Regions from separate parts of the Homo sapiens genome. Here regions 1 and 3 are each linked to region 2. The links are contacts of gene promoters, found by promoter capture Hi-C in blood cells and fetal thymus (Javierre and others, 2016). All regions are on one chromosome and are shown on one strand. The core of a region is centred on a gene start or on the middle of the fragment in contact, and the rest is flanking DNA. Distances in the headings are between cores, read along the strand shown.

What was found. The method cuts DNA at HindIII sites, captures the fragments that hold promoters and counts their contacts. A CHiCAGO score of 5 or more calls a contact.
Region 1: a contact is called between the fragment with the promoter of LAMTOR5 here and the fragment with the promoter of UBL4B in region 2, in 8 of 17 cell types (naive CD8 T cells, erythroblasts, M0 macrophages and 5 more). The highest score is 7.9, in naive CD8 T cells.
Region 3: a contact is called between a fragment that was not itself captured here and the fragment with the promoter of UBL4B in region 2, in 1 of 17 cell types (fetal thymus). The highest score is 5.3, in fetal thymus.

The regions. Positions count from the first base shown.
Region 1 is chr1:110,406,418-110,410,347 of GRCh38, reverse strand. LAMTOR5 (late endosomal/lysosomal adaptor, MAPK and MTOR activator 5) reads left to right here and starts at 2,654. Exons shown (of 4, transcript NM_001382293.1): 1 at 2,654-2,762. The coding sequence starts at 2,728. LAMTOR5-AS1 (LAMTOR5 and SLC16A4 antisense RNA 1) reads right to left here and starts at 2,539. Exons shown (of 3, transcript NR_102697.1): 1 at 2,394-2,539. RefSeq lists an enhancer at 2,483-2,712. The HindIII fragment of the contact is 8,453 bases long and covers 753-3,930 here.
Region 2 is chr1:110,111,156-110,114,636 of GRCh38, reverse strand. UBL4B (ubiquitin like 4B) reads right to left here and starts at 2,194. Exons shown (of 1, transcript NM_203412.2): 1 at 690-2,194. The coding sequence starts at 2,102. The coding sequence ends at 1,578. The HindIII fragment of the contact is 8,258 bases long and covers 1-3,481 here.
Region 3 is chr1:110,470,772-110,474,777 of GRCh38, reverse strand. It overlaps LOC105378899 (a long non-coding RNA gene), which reads left to right and starts at 1,132. Exons shown (of 2, transcript XR_947699.2): 1 at 1,132-1,213; 2 at 1,918-2,236. LOC105378898 (a long non-coding RNA gene) reads right to left here and starts at 1,021. Exons shown (of 2, transcript XR_001738181.1): 1 at 984-1,021; 2 at 696-834. The HindIII fragment of the contact is 581 bases long and covers 1,038-1,618 here.

The sequences.
Region 1 (3,930 bases), core at 1,405-3,904, 300 kb before region 2:
CACACCCGGAGAATTTTTTGTATTTTTAGTGGAGACAGGGTTTCACCGTGTTAGCCAGGATGGTCTCAATCTCCTGACCTCGTGATCCACCCGCCTCGGCCTCCCAAAGTGCTGGGATTACAGGCGTGAGCCACCGCGCCCGGCTGTTTTACTTTTTTTAATGTGGCCACTAGACTATATTGCCCAGGCTGGACTTGAACTCCTGGGCTCAAGGGATCCTCCTGCCTCAGCCTCCTGAGTAGCTGGGATTATAGGCACGTGCCATTTCACCAGGCAGTACTTATGTTTTCTAATGCTAAGTTTTAAACTGCTTTTTCTAAAACTTATATGGCCTGTACTGTGTTACCCCTAACTTAACATGAATAATTTCTCTAGAGCAGGAGTCCAAGACCCCTGAATTATAACATTCAAACTGGAATTTTGGCTGGGTGCAATGGCTCATGCCTATAATCCCAGCACTTTGGGAGGCTGAGGTGGGCGGATCGCTTGAGGTCAGGAGTTTGAGACCAGCCTGGCCAACATGGTGAAACCCCATCTCTACTAAAAGCACAAAAATTAGCCACGTGTGGTGGTGCATGCCTGTAATCCCAGCTACTCGGGAGGCTGAGGCAGAAGAATCGCTTGAACCAGGAGGCAGAGGTTGCAGTGAGCTGAGACGGCGCCACTGCACTCCAGCCTGGGCGATAGAGCAAGACTCTGTCTCAAAAAAATAAAGAAATAAACAAACTGGAATTTCAAGGAAGCTGCAAGCTTCACTATGACAGCTGCGGAATAAAAAGGGACTCTGAATGCCAGTGCAGTGTATTGGACTTTGGTTCAATACCAAAGTCTGGTATCTTCCGATCTGGGAGCTGGGCCCCAGATTGGAAGGTAGGCTGTGAGTAAAAAGCTGGAGGTGACAGAGTTGGAAGAAACTTAGTGCAAGGAATGATCCACAGAGGGGGTGAGGCTTACCAATTTGAGTAAATTAGCACCACTTTTTCGGGAGGCAATTTGTAAGTATGTATCAAGAGTCTTAAAAAATGATCATGTCCTTTAACCCAGTCATTCCATTTCTAGTAACTTATAAGGAAATTTTAAAACTGCACAGATATTTAGCTATGAGGATATTCAACCAGCATTGTAATAGCTAAAACAAAAAACAAACAAAAGCAAAAAAAAAAAAAAAAGTCCAAGTACAGTGGCTCACCTGCAATCTCAGCGCTTTGGGAAGCCAACGAGGGAGGGTCACTTGAGACTGGGCTACACACTGAGACTCCATCTCTACAATTTTTTTTTTAATTAGCTAGGTGGGGTGGCGGGTCCCTGTAGTCCCAGCTTCTTGGGAGGCTGAGGTGGGAAGATCGCTTGAACCTAGAAGGCTGAGGCTGGACTAAGCCATGATAGTGCCACTGCACTCCAACCTTAATCCACAATTAAGATACAGCTATAAAATGGAATATTTTGCAACTACTACAAAGGATGTAAGTGAAAACTTGACATGGAAAGACATTTATTCTAAACTCTGTAAAGAAGGCCAGCTACAGAATTGTACCTCCAGTATGTATGTCAATTTTGCTTACAAAACAAACAAAACAAAAAAAACCATGCTAGGCGTGGTGACTCAGCCTGTAATCACATTTTGGGAGGCTGGAGTGGGAGGATCTGTTGAAGCAAGGAGTTTAAGACCAGCCTGGACAACACAGCGAGACCCCCATCTCTACAAAAAAACGTAAAAATTAGCCAGACATGATGGCTCGAGGCTGTGGTCCTAGCCAGTCGAGAGGCTGAGAGGTGAGGATAGCTTGAACCCAGGACGTCCGGGTTGCAATGAGCTATAATCGTTCTACTGCACTACAGCCTGGGTAACAGAGCAAGACCCTGTCCCCCAAAAAATTTATTTTAAAAAGGCAAACGAAAAAACATTAAAAGTATACATTTACAAAGACAACTATCTGAAAGGATATTCTCCAAGAAGTTAAAAGTCGTCTTTGGACAGTGGGGCCATAGATGTTTTCCTATTTTTACCAGCTTTATAATTAATTTTTAAAAGTTATTTTCAAGTAGTCCTACCCAGTCTTCCTTACGAGTTAGGACTCAAATGCCACTCTCTTCCCCTAAACTGTCCTGAGTCCCCTCACCATAATAAGCACCAATGTCTTCGTTAAAATCCCGACACTGCCAACACTCAGCTAGGGGGTTGAACCTTGCTCCATCTCGTCCTTTAGTCTCTGTGTGCGTCTTTCCCCCTACAAGCCTACTGACCCCCTCCAAGAGGTCCCGTGTCTTCCCCGTACTTGCCCCACAGGCTAGATCAGACCCTGTCTGACCCCTGGGTTATTGTAAAACTTAAGATCTGTCCCCTAGGTCTCGGAGTCGGTTGAACTAGGGTCCAAAGGTTAAAAAACACTGACACAAAATGCCAGGCCACGAACTGAAGCACTGAGGCCCGGCTGCAGACCTCTCCCGAGAGGGGAATAATCCGTGCCGGCCGGTTCCGCCATGGAGCCAGGTGCAGGTCACCTCGACGGTCACCGCGCGGGGAGCCCAAGCCTTCGTCAGGCTCTGTGCGACGGAAGCGCAGTGATGTTTTCCAGTAAAGAACGCGGACGTTGCACCGTGATCAATTTTGTCCCTTTGGAGGCGCCGTTACGGTCCACGCCCCGCTCGCGTCAAGTGACTGAGGCCTGTGGTGGAGAAGGACGTGCCGTGCCGCTGGGTTCTGAGCCGGAGTGGTCGGTGGGTGGGATGGAGGCGACCTTGGAGCAGCACTTGGAAGACACGTGAGTAGTGCGCGCCTCTTCGGCCTGTCCTGAGGTCGCGGCGGAGGAACTTGAGCGGAACGAAAGGCGCGAGCTGCGAGTACCGGCCAGGGCGTCTCGGGGACGTCGCGCGACCCCCGGGACACGGGATGAGGGGGCTAAACTCTACCCAAGGCCGCAGGGCGGGGCGGGTGACCCGGAATTAAAATCCTGCCGGGCACCGCACATTCCCTCTTGAGCGAGTCTCCCGGGCCCAGGCCACGGGCCAAAACTGCCTATCTCGTTGTTGAAATCGTCTTTACGGTCAGGGTGGTTCTGCGGAAGTTTTAGAAAACGGGTTGACTTTTGGGAAGATTGTGCCAGTTGTGCAGTGTCGAGCCCTGCAGTGTAAACAAACACGTATCTCCTGTGTGTAACCTATCAGTTACTTGGTGCTTAAGTAGATAAAAATCATTCTTTAAATTTTTCGAACAAGCAGTATCTATGTAAAATTCAAAACTGGAAAAGTGTAAAGGGTACAGAGAGACACCTGCCTCCCACCGATGTCCCTCAGCTTCCACTTACCCTCCAGGAGGTAACTTGAGTTTTTCAACAGTTGTTTTAAATGAGTTAGTACTAAAACATGCGTTTTTAACAAGAGTGAAAACATCCTAGATGTTTTTCACGCAGTGTTTGTGGCCCTCCAGAACTCAGCAGTACTTAGCACATTTTTTTCTCTCATCAGAGAGAAACTGGTTTATTTCAATTAATTAACTAGAACTTAAATTTTTTGTGTTCTTTTTTTGAGACGGAATTTCGCTCGTCTTCCAGGCTGGAGTGCAATGGCGTGATCTCGGCTCACTGCAACCTCCGCCTCCCAGGTTCAAGCGATTCTCTTGCCTCAGCCTCCCGAGTAGCTGGGATTACAGTCATGCGCCACCACGCCTGGCTAATTTTGTATTTTTAGTAGAGACGGGGTTTCTCCATGTTGGTCAGGCTGGTCTTGAACTCCCGACCTCAGGTGATCCGCCCACCTGGGCCTCCCAAAGTGCTGGGATTACAGGCGTGAGCAACCGCGCCCGGCCCTAGAACTTAATTTTTTTCTTAGGGTGTGACAATGAAAAAAGATTGAGAAATATTGATTTAAAGCACTTAATGCCTGGTACATAGAACACCTGTATGTTTGTACTTATTTAAATCCTTTTTCTCC
Region 2 (3,481 bases), core at 945-3,444:
AGTTTGCTCTCTTGGCTGGGACAGTGGGTGGGGCACTGGGAAAGGAGCTGGGTCATAAGCTGAACGAGGTTGTCTTATTCTGCGAGGTGAGGGAATGACCACTGCTAAGCAGGCTCCCACAAACAGAATGCTTTCCACATCCATCCTTGTCACTGCCGCTGAGCCCACCACTAGAAGACATCCCTCCCAGTTGGACAGTCTTTGCCTCTAACCGTCACCAACACTCATGGGGTAAGTAGATGCTGTTATAAGGATGCCCATGCAACAGGTGGGAAACCTGAGCATCAGACAGGAAAAGCAGGTTACCCATGGCCACACAGCTGGACTCGGACTGGAAGAGAGGATGAGGGGCCCTGCAGGCCAAGGACAGGATGCTTCCTAGGGAAGGGGGCCCTGCTTGTTCAAGACATTCTCCTCCACCCCTTCCCTCCATCCCCATCACTCAGGACTGAAACTTTTGCAATAACAGCATTTCAGGGGCTTCAGCAGTGAATGGGGGACCACAGCTCCCCACTCCCTCCCACTCACACACAGAGTGTGGGGACTCCTCAGCCTCTGCAAGGGCCACTCTCTCACTCAAAGAACAGAGTAAAGGGCCTGGCTTTCCTCGTAGTCTGCAGGGGACTGGCCCCTCTATGCTGAACCCAGGGCCCCGTGAGGCCCCGTGCATTCAGTCACACACACTAGACTCTAGTTTCATGTCACCACTTTACTTTTCACATGTATAGCAGCTCTCTGCATCTAGGCTGCGTGCTCTGTGAGGGCAAGGATCCTCATTGACAGATACCATTTTTCCTTCCAGGGAGCCTTGGGCAGCGCTGGGCAGGTAATGTGAGCTGTGATACCTACTGACTGATCAGTCTGGGAGGGTGGGGCATGGCTCTGTTCACGCTGGCCACAGGGAGTGTATGACTTTGCTGAACTTTTTTTCTGCCTGAGGCTCAGTTTCCTGCTATTCTTGGTCTGTGTCTGTCTCCCTGAGGGCTCCAGGGCTGGCACCCGGTACGTGCCCTCCTCCCACTCTCACCTCTGCTGTGCCTGTCCCTTAAGCTGGAAGCACAAGCAGGAGAACAGCAGGGGCAGCCTCACCCAGAAGGCAAGGGGCAGCTACCTGACATTCCTCTCCTCTTGGCTGCTGGGGAGCCTAGGGGAGATGTCACGGTCTGAGGATGGAGGAAAATGAACTCACATTGTCTTTCTGTCCCGAAGGAGAAAGAGGGTCTGCCTAGAACCATGGAGACCCTGGGCCAGGGCTGCTTTCAGCCTGGGGAGCTGCTGGGTATGTGTGGGCAAAGCTGCCAGCACAGGAGGGGACTGTGGCCTTTGGGGCTGCCCTCCGGTGATCAGAACCCTTCTAGGGGAAGCATGGTGATGAGGGTTGGTTCACTCTGCATTTCAGAGGGAGGACCTCAGGCCCAAGAGGGGACAGGGATCCAAAAACCCTCCAGCTGCTTGGAAGGTTCAAAAAGGGGTGTGGACGCATCCACATCAGCAGGAAGTAGTAGGAAAAGTCACCAGGGAACACGTAAGGATGAGGCCGGGAGAATTTTAGCATGCAAATGGGTAGGATGGCCCGTTTACTGATCAGCTGCTGCCTCCTCCTTCTCCTCCATGTCACAGGAGCTCTGAGGCCGTGCCTTCGCCTCAAGCTCCCTCTCTCCAGCTGGCTCCACGTGAGGCTCCTCTGCCAGGAGGTACTGGGCCAGCTGCTCCAGGTGCTCCAGGCTTATCTTCTGCAGGCGCTCCTCGTGCTCCTGCCTTAGCAGCTGCAGCACGGCCTTGGCATCCTGTGGTTCAAAGTGTTTAGCTAGGACCAGTCCCAGCTGGTGCCACAGGGGCTGGGTCTGCGGCTGGTGGGCCTCCTTTAGCGCCATCTTCTCCAAGGGCTGCATGATGACATTGATAGAGGCATTGGGCCCAATGCAGTAGTCAGAGAGGTGCTTGTCATCCTCCAGGAGCTGGCCACGGAAAAGCAGGTGCTGCTGCTCCTCAGGCACCTTCAGCCGCCTGGACACCAGTCTCTTCAGCGTGGCTACACTCTCTTGCCCTGACACCTTCAGACTGCATCTCTGGCCCAGGAGCAGCTTGACTGTGAGGAACATCGGGCTGAGTGGAATCAGGAGGGATCCATGCTCTGGGAGCTGCCCTGAAGATTAGGGGGTCCTGCGGGAGATGTTGGCTTCTCCCTATCAACAAAGGGCTAGTAGTCCCAGGAGACCAGGGACCCAGCTTAGGCAGGCAGCCATTGGCTAGTGCACGGTGATGTCACAATGCTGCGGGGGGGCTCATTTCCAGAGTGGAACTTTTGGGACAGCAAAGGGGTATTTGGGCCCAGAGCATCCTTCCTCCACGAGAGGAGAAAAAGAGCACTAGGAAAGAAAATGTGGGACTGGGGGAAATGAGAGTGAGACTAGGGAAAGGGAGGGAGGGAAAGGACAGGGTGGTGGGAGGAGCATGTCTATTGATTTCTTCAACACATGTGTATTAGGTGCCACCTCTGTGCCAGCACCTGGACCTGGGGAGACAGTCATATTCAGATGGATGACTTCTGCCTTCATGACACTTTCACACTAGTGAGCTGGCTAGCATTTATCAAGCGTCCTCTTTCTGTCAAGCACTTTACACGCTCTTTTGGATTGGGCTTTCCAGCAGCAGACACTGAGACAGGGATTTGAGAACAAGTACTCAATTAGGAGGTGATCCCAGGAGGCACCAGGAGGGGAGTGAGGATGTGAGATGAGGACGGGAGGGAAATCAAAACGTGCATTCATGAGCAGGTTGCCATTGTGGGCAACTAGTATGTTATCCTGCTGGGGAGTTCTGGGAGGTTGCATGGAACACACCTGAGTTGCACCAGGTGTGGTTTTTTTGTTTTTTTTTTTGTTTTTTGAGACAGGGTCTCACTCTGTTGCCCAGGCTGGAGTGCAGTGGCATGATCTCGGCTCACTGCAACCTCCGTTTCCTGGGTTCAAGTAATTCTCCTGTGTCAGCCTCCCAAGTAACTGGGGCTACAGCTGCACGCCACCATGCCTGGCTAATTTTTGTATTTTTAGTAGAGATGGGTTTCTCCATGCTGCCCAGGCTGATCTCAAACTCCCAGACACAAGCAATCTGCCTGCTTTGGCCTCCCAAAGTGCTGAGGTTACAGGCGTGAGCCACCGCACCTGGCCGAACCTGCATCTTTATGCTCTGACTCCTGTCTTTGGCTAATAGAAGTGCTACCTCCTTGGCACTTCTGGTCCACAGGTGTTAAGCAGCATGCTCCTGTGACCACAGAAAAGTAGGAAGCCATCGGGCCCTCAGGAATGTGAGTGCTGAGGGGATGGGGCAGGACAGCCCACAGCATCTGCATCACAGGCCTGCCTAATTGAATCCTCTCAACCTATGAGGCAGGCACTGCCATGATCTCCATCTGCCAGAGGAGAAAGTGGAGGCTTGGCTGATCCTACAGCAAGCAGGCAGAATTGCTCTTGTCTTCACT
Region 3 (4,006 bases), core at 79-2,578, 360 kb before region 2:
CCTGATGAACTTCATTTTATAGCTCCCAGCTACAAGGTAGGCCGGAAAATTGAGGATTGCACTTTTTTGTCTGTATAGTGGAAGCAGACAATCAGGTTCTGTTGAGCCCACCCACATTGTCTGCAGTAACCACCCACTCCACCACCAGCGCAGTTTGCTCCTCGGTCTGGGATGTTCTCAGAGTGCTTATCTCACTGCTCAGTGATGGCTTACACATCAGCCTCCCTCTGGACTAAGAACTCTAGGGCAGGAATTTTGTCTGAATTTTCTCTGTAACTCTAAACACCTAGAACAATGCCTGACCTAAAATAAGCACTCAGTAAATGTTAAATTCATCCTCCCATTCACTCAACAGCTATATACAGAAGTAAGCAAATGAGGCCATGGGACTTCCTTCCCAAAAGAGGTCTCCAGTGGCTGAAATCAGGGAGTAAGTGCCCACGTGACCCACATATGGACAGTCAGTGGCCTGTGGCCCACCACAGCAACACCTCCTCCTCTGCCAATGAGGTCACCTGGCCCTTGTGCCAAGCACTGAGCATGTAGAGGTGAGTAAGCTCCTCTCCCTGCCCTCAGGGAGCTTGTAGTCCAGTGGAACACACAGACGTGTAGGCAACTAAGTATAATTCAATGCATGAGTCCTTTCCTTGGCTTACGGACCAGTGCTACTGGGGAAGGGAGAGTAGAGCACTCGCCTGTATGAGGAAAGGCAGGGAGCTTCATCCAGGGATGAGCTGGTATATTGATCATGTTCTCTGATTTTCCATATTCTTGATGCTCTGGCATCTGGGGCCTTGATCCTTGAGAGACTGCCCTCACAGGACTAGCTAATTCCTAGGCATGGCGAAAGACTCCCCTGTGAGCCTGTCTTTGATATACGAACCAACCCACCCACAGCCCACACCCCCAACCCTCTCCTTTATCAAACTCTCAAAAAGCAAGCCAATTTTCTCCCTGCCCTAAACCACCCCAGGGTCAAATACCACTCCTCCAGCCCAGAGTCCGCTGAAATTACTCAAACTATACAATTCTAAGCTTACTCAGAATACCTACCCTGTGTCACCCATTCCTTCATGTAATAATGCAATAAAGGCTCTATGTCACAATTTCCTTTCCCTTGACCACCCCAGACAACTCCCCCCCAACCTCCACCTCCTGACTGACCCCAGTGCTTCCCAATGTGGCCCTACATGCCTCCTATGTCTAGGGGTCTGTAAGTATAAACTTCTTCCTTCATGACAATCATGTCCATGTCTGCATGTCCTACCATACCTAATTAAAACAAACCCCAGGTATAAATTTCAGAACAGCTGGCTAGAAGGGATATAATGGGGCTAGTCCTGGGGAGCATCTAGCACATCCCTAGGCAGATCTAGCCGGGAAACTCAGCTGACAGGTGCTGCACTGATCAAGGTAACACTGAGATGCTGACTTAGATACAGAGTGAGAGATGAGATGACCCCTGGGAGATCCTCCTCCCCCTAGTCTGGACCCTCTTTGATGCTCCCAACTAGAGGACTAGACATCAGTTTCATGATGCTCCTGCCACTAACATTTCAAGCTAATTTGGGAAGTGGTGAGGAGAGATCCAGCTGCCCCCTCAGCAAAGCATCAAGCTTGATCACATAACAATGAATGTTGGCAAGCATGGCCACTGACCAGGCAGCATCCTAAGCCCTTTACATGTATAAAATCACTTCTTCCCAGCCACACACCACCACAATCCTGTAAATGAGGTACTATCTGTCTCATTTTAAGGGAACCGAAGCACAGATCAGTTCAATAACCTGCCCAAGATCACACAGTCAGTAAGGGGCAGGCCCAGGATTCAGACTCAGGTAGCATGACTCTAGAATGAGGGCCCTGGATGGTGACAACACAAAGCCGGAGCTGACACTTGCATTTTTGTTGCTACAGTGCCCAGCAGGCACCGTGGAGATGGGGGCAGATGTCTGGAAGCAGAGAAGGTGCCGAGTGGAAAGCAGGGGATGAAGGCTACTTTCCTCCTGGGCAGCCGCCGGCGGGACCAGGCAGGCTTTTCTCTCTCGCCCAGGGTGCGGTGTAGAGCCTCCACTGGACTCCACCACGGGGAGGAAGACCGAGGCTACCCAGCCTCCTGGCTGCTGGCCATGGCTCTAGCCCACCCTTGCCTGTGTGTCAAGAGAGAATCCAAAACAATGTTCCTTTTGCTGTAAAGGGCATGATTAGGACAATTGGCAAAATAGTCTACATCAGATGATAGTATTGTTCTGATATTAATTTCCTGACTTCGATATTTGTACCAATTTTCATGTTAATATTTACAAGAAAATGTCCTTGATTTGGGGGGAATACTGAAGTAAAGAGTATTATGTCAGGCCGGGCACAGTGGCTCACGCCTGTAATCCCAGCACTTTAGGAGGCTGAGGCAGGTGGATCACTTGAGGTCAGGAGTTCAAGGCCAGCCTGGCCAACATGGTGAAACCCGGTCTCTACTAAAAATACAAAATTAGCCAGGCGTGGTGGTGGGTGCCTGTAATCCCAGCTACTTGGAAGGCTGAGGCAGGAGAATTGATTGAACCCAGGAGGTGGAGGTTGCAGTGAGCCGAGATCGCGCCATTGCACTCCAGCCTGGACAACAAGAGCAAAACTTCGTCTCAAAAAAAAAAAGAGTATTATGTCTGCAACTTGCTTCCTAAAAGATCCAGGGGAAGAAAAACATACATATATGTTCTATATAATTTATATAGCTATGTGTTTTCTTTATACTTATGTATTAAATATCAATAATTATATATTTTATATATATTTAAGTTTTATTTTTATACATAAAATATATAAATATATTACATATTATATAATATAATATATATTTTAATACCTAGAGAGAGTGAGAGAGAGAAAAGCAGAGGGGAAGGGGAGAGGGAGGAATAGCGGACAGAAAAATAATGCAAATGTGGTGAGGTGTCAACATTTCTGATATTTGGGTTAAGGTATGTAAGAACTCTTTCTGCAAGTTTGAAATTATGTCTAAATAAAAAGATTTTAAAGATTGAGATAATCCAAAGGCCTCTCCAAAACCATATTTATAAATTTGACACATGCCACCCCGCATGTCCAGAGGAAGAAGGTGGAAACTAGACAGGGAGAGAGCCGGTTACTCACAGCCTAGGGCCCTGCCCCGGGAAACAGGCAAATGGATCCAAATTCACTGGGGGCTGCAGGGAAGTGGGGTTAGCAGACAGGTCCTAAATCCCATTTCAGAGTATTTTTCAGGTAGGGAGGTAAAAAGAAGAGGAAAGCAGAGTGGGAGAGAGGAGGATGGGGTGAGAAGTTTCTCTGGTAGGAAACAGGTCCCTTCCAGCTCTGTCCCCACCACCACACAATACCTAGGCACCAAGACTGGACAGGGCAGTCCTAAAATGGGATGACGAAGATGGACATACAGAACACGAGCCCTCTGCAGGACAATGAGGCATTAGCACCAGGTCACACATCTTGAGATCGTGATTGATTTGCTTTGTAAATACAGTTTGTGCTGGGCACTGTGGCTCATACCTGTAATCCTACCACTTCCAGAGGCAGAGGCAGGTGGATCACTTGAGCCCAGGAGTTCAAGACCAGCCTGGGCAACATGGTGAGACCCTGTCTCCAGAAAAAAATACAAAAATTAGCCAGGGGTGGTGGTGCATGCCTGTAATCCCAGCTACTCAGGAGGCTGAGGCTGAGGGAGGATTGCTTGAGCCAGGGAAGTAGAGGCTGCAGTGAGCCAAGATAGCACCACTGCGCTCCAGCCTGGGCAACAGAGCAAGACCCTGTCTCGAAAGAAAGAAAGAAAGTTGTAAGGAATCGCTTAGTAGTTGGGAAGGAAAACTGGTTCAAAATTTAATGTTTAAGATCTTCATAATATTAGATTTGGTGAGGTCTCCTTGATATGACACCAAAAGCACAAGAAACAAAGGGAAAAATAGATAAATGGGACTACATCAAAACTTAAAACCTTTGTGCATGAAATGACACACATCAA